3 separate regions of the Homo sapiens genome follow, and regions 1 and 2 are each linked to region 3. Evidence: promoter capture Hi-C in 16 types of primary human blood cells and fetal thymus (Javierre and others, 2016). All regions are on one chromosome and are shown on one strand. Each heading gives the region's core, a stretch centred on a gene start or on the middle of the fragment in contact. The rest is flanking DNA. Distances are from core to core; before and after follow the strand shown. Region 1 holds the start of SLC75A1 (solute carrier family 75 member 1). Region 2 overlaps GRK4 (G protein-coupled receptor kinase 4). Region 3 holds the start of MXD4 (MAX dimerization protein 4).

What was found. The method cuts DNA at HindIII sites, captures the fragments that hold promoters and counts their contacts. A CHiCAGO score of 5 or more calls a contact.
Region 1: the fragment with the promoter of SLC75A1 here is called in contact with the fragment with the promoter of MXD4 in region 3 in 1 of 17 cell types (neutrophils); the score reaches 5.8 in neutrophils.
Region 2: a contact is called between a fragment that was not itself captured here and the fragment with the promoter of MXD4 in region 3, in 1 of 17 cell types (neutrophils). The highest score is 7.3, in neutrophils.

The regions. Positions count from the first base shown.
Region 1 is chr4:2,933,359-2,936,723 of GRCh38, reverse strand. SLC75A1 (solute carrier family 75 member 1) reads left to right here and starts at 1,899. Exons shown (of 13, transcript NM_001146069.2): 1 at 1,899-1,955; 2 at 2,780-2,971; 3 at 3,061-3,157. The coding sequence starts at 2,801. It overlaps NOP14-AS1 (NOP14 antisense RNA 1), which reads right to left and starts at 1,178. Exons shown (of 4, transcript NR_015453.2): 1 at 1-1,178. RefSeq lists enhancers at 1-59, 1-1,061, 2,319-3,186, 3,279-3,365 and silencers at 1,450-1,559, 1,720-2,029, 2,259-2,478. The HindIII fragment of the contact is 5,918 bases long and covers 1,180-3,365 here.
Region 2 is chr4:2,969,662-2,972,857 of GRCh38, reverse strand. The region is part of intron 1 of GRK4 (G protein-coupled receptor kinase 4); the gene reads right to left. Among named protein-coding and RNA genes, the nearest start is that of GRK4, 7.7 kb to the right of the region's middle. The HindIII fragment of the contact is 6,083 bases long and covers 1-3,196 here.
Region 3 is chr4:2,260,524-2,263,429 of GRCh38, reverse strand. MXD4 (MAX dimerization protein 4) reads left to right here and starts at 1,321. Exons shown (of 6, transcript NM_006454.3): 1 at 1,321-1,513; 2 at 1,606-1,705. The coding sequence starts at 1,450. RefSeq lists enhancers at 1-308, 309-970, 2,202-2,794 and silencers at 602-1,441, 1,492-1,551, 1,642-2,031, 2,042-2,101. The HindIII fragment of the contact is 4,464 bases long and covers 1-2,906 here.

The sequences.
Region 1 (3,365 bases), core at 650-3,149, 670 kb before region 3:
CTACTGCCACTTTAATTCACCAAGCCAAGCCTTTGCACTCAGGACCCTGGCCCAACCCTCTTTGGCCAAGCAAAGAGGAAACGAGAACAGGACAGAAAAAAAAGTGGGACCGGACCAGGCACCTGGCTGTCCATTGAGGCCTTGCTATGCGATCCAGGACGGAAGGTGCCGGCAGCAAGCTCATACACTCTAGCTGCGTGTCATGTCATTGAAGAGGGCGCGTGATCCAGCTGGAAGGGTGGATAAAAGTGTAACTGCCCAGTGGGTTCACCTTCCCTGTTACCTAGACAGCCAATTTATCAAGAAAGGGCATTTGCAACAGAGAAAAGGTAATTCACGCAGAGCTAGCTGTGTGGGAGACTGGAGTTTTATTATTACTCGGTCTCCCTGAGCATCTGGGGTTTGGAGTTTTTAAAGATAAGCTGGTGGGTGGGGGGCAGCCAGTGAGTCAGAAGTACCCATTGGTCAGGTCAGAGATGAAATCACAGGGAGTCGAAGCTGTTTTCGCACTGAGTCAGTTCCTGGGTGCCACAACATCAGATGAGCCTGGGTGGTGCCAGGTGACCCACCAAGTGCTGATCTTAGGCTTTACGATGGTGATGTTATCGCCAGGAGCAGTTTGGGGAGGGTCAGAATCCTGTAGCCTCCCGCTGCGTGACTCTTCAACCGTAGTTTCTAATCTTGTGGCTAATCTGTTGGTCCCACAAAAGCAGGCTAATCCCCAGGAAAGGTTTCCTTTGGGAAAGGGCTGTTATCATCTTTGTTTTAAACTAAGTTCCTCCCACAGTTCAACCTGCGTGCAGCAGTAAACAAGGAGGGCATGGAGGTTAGAAGCAAAATGGAGCTGGTTATCTCACTGTCGGCAAATTTTGCAATGGCAGTTTCATAGAGATGCCTGTCCTCTGGGAAAAAAGCTAATAACAGGTTGTCTTTTTGGCTGCAGGTGGAAAACTGCATCTATTAGGAAGAGGTGGGGCTTTGTTCTTACCCACAATTGGAAGTTCTCTATGGAGTAAAGGCGGTATGTGTGCCACCTGATTCCTTTCCCCATGTGTATCTGGTTAGGGTCGGCCACGTGAGATCCGCAAGCATTTTAGAAGGTGGGAGGGGAGGTGGGAGCTGGCTACAGGCCAGGCGTTGGCGTGGTTCCGTGAGTGTGCTCCAGCCAGGCCCAAAGCTTCTCCTGCCCAGAGGGACCGTTTCCTCCAGCGTGGGTCGGGTGCTTCTGCGCCCGGAAAGAGCGCCAGCTCCTCCTTCGGGTGACCCAGGGAGCGGGGCTGCAGGCAAAGGCGCAGGCGGCCAAAAAGGTGCCAACCGGGTCCTGTGGCTTTCAGTTGTCTCTGCCCACCCAATTCACACCATCTTTCCCCCTCAGCCGCCTGTCCTGGGACTTCAGGCTCAGCACCAAACGCAGCAAAAGTAGGTGCACAGAGAGCGGGGTCAGCTCACGCAGCCCGAGCAGAATGGCTGTGCTGCCGCCCCAGGCCCGCGGCCACCGCTGTGTGTGTGGCAGGAGTCAGCCCCCCAGCGTGGGGCCCCGAAGCCCGCGGTCCTTCCACGGGGAGGGCCAGGCCCGCAGGGCGCAGACGATGGGGGACAGGCTGCGCCAGCGCTCGCCTGAGGCCCCGCACACAAACCTCAGGCCCATGGGTCCGCTCCGCGGGGCAGGCGTCGTGGGCCCAAGGAGGCCAGGCCAGGAGTCTCGGCCTCGGGGTTACGCGGCGGCGGGCAGCTCTTCCGCTCCGCTCAGGGTGCTGCTAACCCACAGCCAAGCAGCGACCCGCAGGACCGGCGAGAACCCCGCCACTGACTCCGGCCGGAAGAGAACGTGCAGAGATGTACGTCACTTCCGGGGCGTGGCGTGGCCGGGCGTGGCCGTCCCGCCCCTGGCGGCGTGCCTGGTGCCCTGTTCCGCGTCTGTGCGACCGTCCGTCCCGAGCGCGCAGCCGCGGCAGGTGCGGGGCGGGACCGGGGGCGCCCGGGGTGGGGGGCGTAGGGGGCGCTCGGGTTGGGGGTGGGACAGGGGACGCGCGGGGTGGGGGAGGAGACGGGACCCGGGGTACGCGGGGGTGGGGCGGGTGAGAGGTGCGCAGGGTAGGGGAGTAGGGGGCGCGCGGGGTGTGGGGCTGGACCAGGGGCGCGCGGGGTGGGGGCGGTGGGAGGCGCGCGGCGTGGGGGTTAGAGGGCGCGCAGGGTGGGGGACGGGACCGGGGACGCGCAGGGTGGGGGGCGGGACCGGGGGCGCGCGGGGTGGGGGCGGGACCGGGACGCACGCGGGATGGCGGAGTGGGAGGCGCGCGGGGTTGGGGGTGCTCCTGCGTCCGGTGTGCACCCCATGGCCCCCGCCAGGGAGACCGAGTCCGGGCCAGGGGCCGGAATCGCGGGGCGCGGGCCGGGGCTGGGGTTGGGGTTGGGATCGGGATCGGGATCGGGATCGGGATCCGGGTTCCCCGCGGCTTCAAGTTTTCTCTCGCTGTTACGAGGGCGTGGGAGGCGCGGCCGTGGGGTGGGGTGGGGCCAGGTCCGCGATGTGCTCACCCTGGTCTCTCAGGACCGTTGCCTTTGCGGCTATTTTTTGTGCAATCCCCGAAGCCTGCGTTTCCTGCTGCCTGGGTTCGGGGCGGGGGCATCGCGCAGGCCAGAACGGCCCCTGCGTCCGTAGGCCAGAGCCCCTGCCATCAGCCCCTTTAGGGTGCTCGCCGGCTGTCGGGTGTGGGGGTATGCCAGGCCCCGGAGGACTCGGCTTCCCCGCTAACCCGACCCGCCGCACCCCACCCAGGCCAGGTCAGAGCAGCCCACCATGGGATGGGGAGGGGGTGGAGGCTGCACCCCGCGCCCACCCATCCACCAGCAGCCGCCGGAGCGCCGCGTGGTCACCGTTGTCTTTCTCGGCCTCCTGCTGGACCTCCTGGCCTTCACGCTGCTGCTGCCCCTGCTGCCCGGGCTGTTGGAGAGCCACGGCCGTGCCCACGTGAGTCCTTGCCCTGCGGCCCACAGTGCCCCCTGCCCCCCAGGCCCATCAGACCTCCCCAGCCCTTATCGTGATTCCTCATCCCCTAGGACCCCCTCTATGGCTCCTGGCAGGGCGGGGTGGACTGGTTTGCCACCGCCATCGGGATGCCAGTGGAGAAGAGGTACAACAGTGTCCTGTTCGGAGGTATGGCTGGCTCTGTGCCCTTGGCGGGCTCTCTACGGTCCTATGTTTGGTGGACGTGGTCCAGCCCAGGCCCCTCCCCAATTCTCGGTCCTTGCCTTCCCACTCCCTGGGCTGGCATGTCTGGTGCCCTTGCCCACATGTCCTGGCTTCTGGGCATGATCCCTTGCCTCCGCGTGTCACGTTCAGATCCTTCCTCATCTCTCCATTG
Region 2 (3,196 bases), core at 393-2,892, 710 kb before region 3:
GACGCTGAGGCAGGAGAGCTGCTTGAGCCCGGGAGGTGGAGACTGCAGAGAACCGAGATCATGCTGCTGCACTCCAGCCTGGGTGACAGAGTGAGACCCTGTCTCAAAAAAAAATTTTTTTAAAGAGTAAATAACACACACACACAGCAGCGCACACACTGTGCACCTCTAAACACAGGACTCCCCCTCCGCCCCCGCCACATATGACTAGACCTGGTGGGGCATGAAGCACACACTGCACACTGCAGCTACAAAAGGTCCCCTGGCTTGGTCTAAGGGACAGAGTGTCACAGGTTAAAGAGAGAGAGAGAGAGAAGAAAGGGCCCCCCCCCGCAGGTTTGGGGCACACGTGCTGGTGAACCCTAGCGCCACTCTACCCCTCATTCAGCTGTCCTCAGTTCCAAAAGTCTCCACTGGCACAGCACAGCAGTCTGGTTCCACGTCCCCGCTGTTTGGCCCGGGCCCGGTCATACTCAAAGGTGGGCCGGCTATGCTGTCAATACTACGTAAAGACAAGGAGGCCAGAAGGTGAAGAACCAGGCAGAGCATGATGAGTCGTGGGGCCATGGCGAGGTCAACGGTGGTCGGCAGGGCCACAGGCATTTCAAAGGAGGACCATCCACAGACACTAAAGTCTGGGCAGCATACTGGGTTGAAAACTGTCAGAGGATTCCTCTTAAGTTTTTGAGGTCCCCAAAAGCAGGCAGTAAAGTGGGGCCACAGTGTTTGAAGGCCCAAGGATCCCCTCTATGGGCTGCCTTCATCTGTTTCAGAGGTACCTGTTACAGGTTGAATTCGTCCCATCCTAAAAAACGTTTATGTTAGAGTTCTATTCCCCAGTTAGCCCCTAACCCTCAGACAGTGATCTTATTTGGAGATAGGGTATTTATAGAGACAATTAAGTTAAAATTAGGTCATTAGGGTGGGCCCTAATCCAACATGATTGGTATCCTTATAAAAATGGAAAATTGGACACAGACACACCCACAGAGGGCACGCCACGTGAAGATGAAGACAGATCAGAATGATGCACCTCCAAGCCAGGGGACACCAGAGACTGCCAGCGAGCCAGCAGAGGCTGGGAGAGAGGCCTGCGACAGATTCTTCCTCACAGCCCACAGAAGGAACCAGCTCCACTCACAACTTGATTTTGCACTCCGGCCTCCAAGACTGTGAGACAATAAATGTCTGTTGCGGGAGACATCAGGTTTGTATCACTTTGTTACACAGCCCTAGCAAACTCACACAATACTGTCCTCCCCGCTTTCTTCTTCCTGCTATTCCTGCCAAGTTTCTTTTCCTTCCATTTTTGGGCCACTTCTGCTTCAGATCCAGGCATACCTACCGTGTTCATTTCCTCATCCTTATTCATTCATTCATCCATCAGGTATTTATTGAGAACCTACTATAGGCCACAACATTATGCAAATGACCTCAGAGAAGCATATAAAGGGCTTCATGAGGTGCTGACAGTCCTCTGGCCAATGAAGCAAGCAAAGCTGGGCAAAAGGTGCTGAAACAAGCATGAAGAATCCTACAGATTATTTTGTTTGAGGTAAAGGTAGCAAAGCACAAAAATGTAATATGAGACTATTAATTTGTACTTTGGAAGTAATTTGCATATCAATTAACCACATATTTACTGGAGACTGAATATTGTTACCAAATTAGTCTTTATGACCATGACATAAATGTTAATAAGCAACTTTGCACACATATGTACAAAATACCGTAAATGTTTCTGCTAAAAAGTAACTTAAGAAAGCCCTAATTCTAGAGTTTTTTGAGGAGCTTTAATAAAGCCAAAATGATTTTGACTGTATCATTTTTCTTTAAGGTAACTATTGCCTAATTTGGGTCAAAATATAAAGCTCAAGAACATTCTTTTGGCCAGGCGCGGTGGCTCACACCTGTAATCCCAGCACTTTGGGAGGCCGAGGCGGGCAGATCACAAGGTCAGGAGATCGAGACCATCCTGGCTAACACAGTGAAACTCCATCTCTACTAAAAATGCAAAAAAATTAGCCAGGCATGGCGGCGTGTGCCTGTAGTCCCAGCTGCTGGGGAGGCTGAGACAGGAGAATGGCGTGAACCTGGGAGGCAGAGCTTGCAGTGAGCTGAGATCACGCCACTGCACTCCAGCCTGGGCGACAGAGCGAGACTGACCCCCCCAAAAAAAAAGAACATTTTTTTTTTTTTTTGAGATGGAGTCTCACCGTGTCGCCAGGTTGGAGTGCAGTGGCACGATCTCGGCTCACTGCAACCTCCACCTCCCGGGTTCAAGTGATTCTCCCGCCTCAGCCTCCCGAGTAGCTCGGACTACAGGTGCATGCCACCATGCCTGGCTAATTTTTGTATTTTTAGTAGAGACGGGGTTTCACCATGTTGGCCAGGATTGTCTCGATACCTGGACCTCGTGATCCGCCCGCCTTGGCCTCCCAAAGTGCTGGGATTACAGGCATGAGCCACCGTGCCTGGCCAAGAATATTATTTTATAGTATCAGTGGTATAGATATTTTTGGTCCTAAAGTAGCATAAAGCCAATAACCCAATATTTGATTCACTGACCAAGAAATAAAAATCCTGATTTAAAGCCATTATAATCTAGATAGACAAAGTAGAAAATATAAGAAAACCAAACTGACCTGGTTGCTAATAACCTGGCTGATTGATAGCATCCCAAATTAGCTGTACCATAATGATAGTAACAGACGGTAGACATTATTGCTTAGGGAAAATGGGGTAACCTTTTGTTGGCAGAGAAATAATTTGGCTGACTACTACATAGATTACTTCAAATATCTGACAGATAAGAAATACTAAGTTTATAACTCTTTCTAGAAAACTTGATCTTACATGCTGTTGAAAATTCTAATAGGCCGGGTGTAGTGGTTCACCCTGTAATCCCAGCACTTTGGGAGGCTGAAGTGGGAGGGTAGGATCACTTGAGTCCAGGGGTTCCAGACTAGCCTGGGCAACATAGTGAGACCCCATCTCCACAAAAACCACAAAATTATCTGTGCATGGCAGCGCATGCCTGTGGTCCCAGCCACTTGGGAGTCTGAGACAGGAGGACTGCTTGGCCCCAGAGTTCAAGGCTTTGAGGCTTCAGTAGCTATGATTTCCCCACCTGCACTCCAGCGGGGTAACAGAGTGAGACCCTGTCTTTAAAAAAAAAAAAGGCTGGGCACCATGG
Region 3 (2,906 bases), core at 72-2,571:
GGTCGGGCGAGGTGGCTCACACCTGTAATCCCAGAACTTTGGGAGGCCGAGGCGGGCGGATCACGAGGTCAGGAGATCCAGACCATCCATGGTGAAACCCCATCTCTACTAAAAATACAAAAATTAGCTGGGCGTGGTGGCACGCGCCTGTAGTCCCAGCTACTTGGGAGGCTGAGGCAGGGGAATCGCTTGAACCCGGGAGGCGGAGGTTGCAGTGAACTGACATCACGCCACTGCATTCCAGCCTGGGCAACAGAGCCGTCTCAAAAAAAAAAAAAAAAAAAATCTGCGAGAGGGTGGGGGGTGCCGAGGCCAGTCTGGGCCAGCCTTAGGGTCAGGGGTCACTAGGGAGACCCGCCAGCTGGGATTTGATGAAGGGTTCACTCCCGTCCCCACTTAGGGCGTCCTCGGCCAGAGGTGGCCAGCGCCTGCCTCTAGGAACGTCCCTGCCCCTCAGGCCAGACACAGAGCATGCAGCCCCCCACTCCGGGGAGCCTCTCGACTCTGGCCGCACGTCTGTGTCCCTTCCCCAGACCTGGGCCCTCCCTCAGCTCCGGCGTCCACTGGGCGATCTGAGGAGCCCGCCCGCTCTGGGCCTGTTTCCCCACTGACACCCTCAGAGACGCCTGGCTCTTAGGATCAGAGCGTCTGCGTCCCTCTCCGAGGTCCCGGCCCTTCCCGGGGCCACTCTGCGCCCGGCGGGGAGGGGAGTCGTTCACGGCCCCACGCAAGACCCCCGGGCAGAGCGCGAGGCCTCGTCCCCCCACGCAGCCACTGCTTTCGTCGCGCTCAGACCCGGCGGCCCGGCCCGGCCCGGCGCACGCCCCGGAGCGCCCTGCTTCGCTCTCGTAGCGGAGACGCTCCTGCGTCCTAACGGGCCCCCAGGACGGCGGGCGGTCCCCGCGCGCTGCGCTTCCTCTCGGCAACGCGTCCGGCTGCGGCGCCCTCATTGGCCGCGCGCCCCGCCACCGGCCATTGGCTCGCAGTGCCTGTTTTACATAGGCCGCTCTGGCCAATCGGCGCGCGGCGCCTACTTAACATGCACGGCGGCCGCCAGTCAGCTAGCGCGGGGGCCGGGCCACCACGTGCTGTTGCTAAGCTCGGGCTTCTAAATTGTTACTAGCGCGGCCGGCCTATCCCAGCCCAGCTCTGCATCTGTCAACATTCTCGGCCCGGCCCGAGGCGCTCGACCCGTCCCCATTGGCCCCAGCCCGGCCCGGCGCCCGCCCCCGGGGCGCGAACGCCGCCTCCCATTGGCTCTGCGGGCCGCCGCTCTCCCTTATGTGTCAATTTGAGGGCCTGAGGCGGAGGGTGGCGGCCGAGCGCCGGAGTCCGCGGAGTCTGGAAGTGCGGCGGCCGGGCGCGCGGGGTGGGCGGCGAGCGGAGCCGGCCGGAGCGGGCCGGGCAGCGGCCGCCGCCGTCCCGGGGCGGACGGGCGCGGGCGGGAGGATGGAGCTGAACTCCCTGCTGATCCTGCTGGAGGCGGCCGAGTACCTGGAGCGCAGGGATCGAGGTAGCGCTCGCACCCCATTGTGCGCCCGCGGCGGTGGGCGGGCGGCGGGGCCGTGCCGGGCGGGGGCCGCTGACCGCGCCGTGTGTCCGCAGAGGCCGAGCACGGCTACGCCTCGGTGCTGCCCTTCGACGGCGACTTCGCCAGGGAGAAAACAAAGGCGGCCGGCCTGGTGCGCAAGGCCCCGAACAACAGGTACCGCCCCCCGCTCCCGACCCCGCCCGGCCCGGTCCGAACCCCCGCCCCCGCCCGGAGCGTGCTCTCCGGGCCCCGATTCCCGGCCCGCGGCCCTCAGCGCCGCCGCCGCGCGCCCCGGCGGCCAGCCTGGAGGAGGAGGCGCGCAGGCCGCGGCCGCAGCCCCGCCCGGCCGGCCCCGCCCTCGCCGTCGCCATCTTCCCGCGGCCGCGCCTCCCGGGCCGCTCGCGTAAACAGTGCCACGCGTACAGCGCCCGCCGCCGGGGTCCGCTCCCGCGCCCGCTCCCCGCCCCCGAGTTGTTCTGGACTTTTCCAGGCGGTAGAAAAGTTGTCAGCGGGCGCTGGCCGGTGCCCCGTGGGTCTGGGGAAACAGGCTCAGCCAGGGTCTGCGGGGGCTGCCGGCCCTAACCCCTTCTCTCCGCGGGTGGGTGGGCGGCCTCCTTTCGACTGGCTCTGCCAGCCGAACTCTGCTGCTCGGCCACCTTCCCCCGCCCCCAGGAGCCTAGACAGAGAAGCGAGTGGAGGCGCTGTCCTGGGCCCTCACTCCTCCCAGGGTGCCCACCGCTTCTGCCCAGCCTCCTGACACAGCGAAACTCCAGCCACCAGTATGGGGGTCCTCTTTTTTAAGACAGAGGCCTTTTAAGGGGGCGGGAGGAGGGGGCAGGCTGCAGGGCAGGGGCCCCATGAAGTCGTTACTACGGGTGCCAGCTGCGCCCTCCATACCTTGACCTCGTGTTCAGGCAGCAGAAGCCCTGAAGCTGGGGTGCGTACAGGTCCCCCGCGTGGGGAGTGGGGACCCTGGGCCGGGGCTCCCCGGGGATTTCCACCCTCCTGGCTGCTGTGAGGACCATAGCACACCTGGTCCTGTCTGGGCCCACCTTGGCCCAGCCCTTTTGTGTGAGCAGGCTGGGAGCTGCGTTTGTAGGGGGCTTCAGAGCCCCAGGGCATGGCTCATTCCTGTGGTCCACCTGTTCTAGGGAATCCGAAAGGCTGGTGTAGGGACCCATTTCTGTGGCATCCTGAGCCAGGCGAGGAATTGGTTGAGTCTCCAGCTGCCCTGGCTGGGACCCGTCCCTGAGTCCCAGCCCCTGGTCCCCTACTGGGGACAGTTTGGGGAAGGACAGGAGTGTGACGAGGGAACCATTGCCTCAGGCCTCCTCAGTGAGCAAGCCCGGCCCCCGCTGCCGCTTCTCTCCAAACC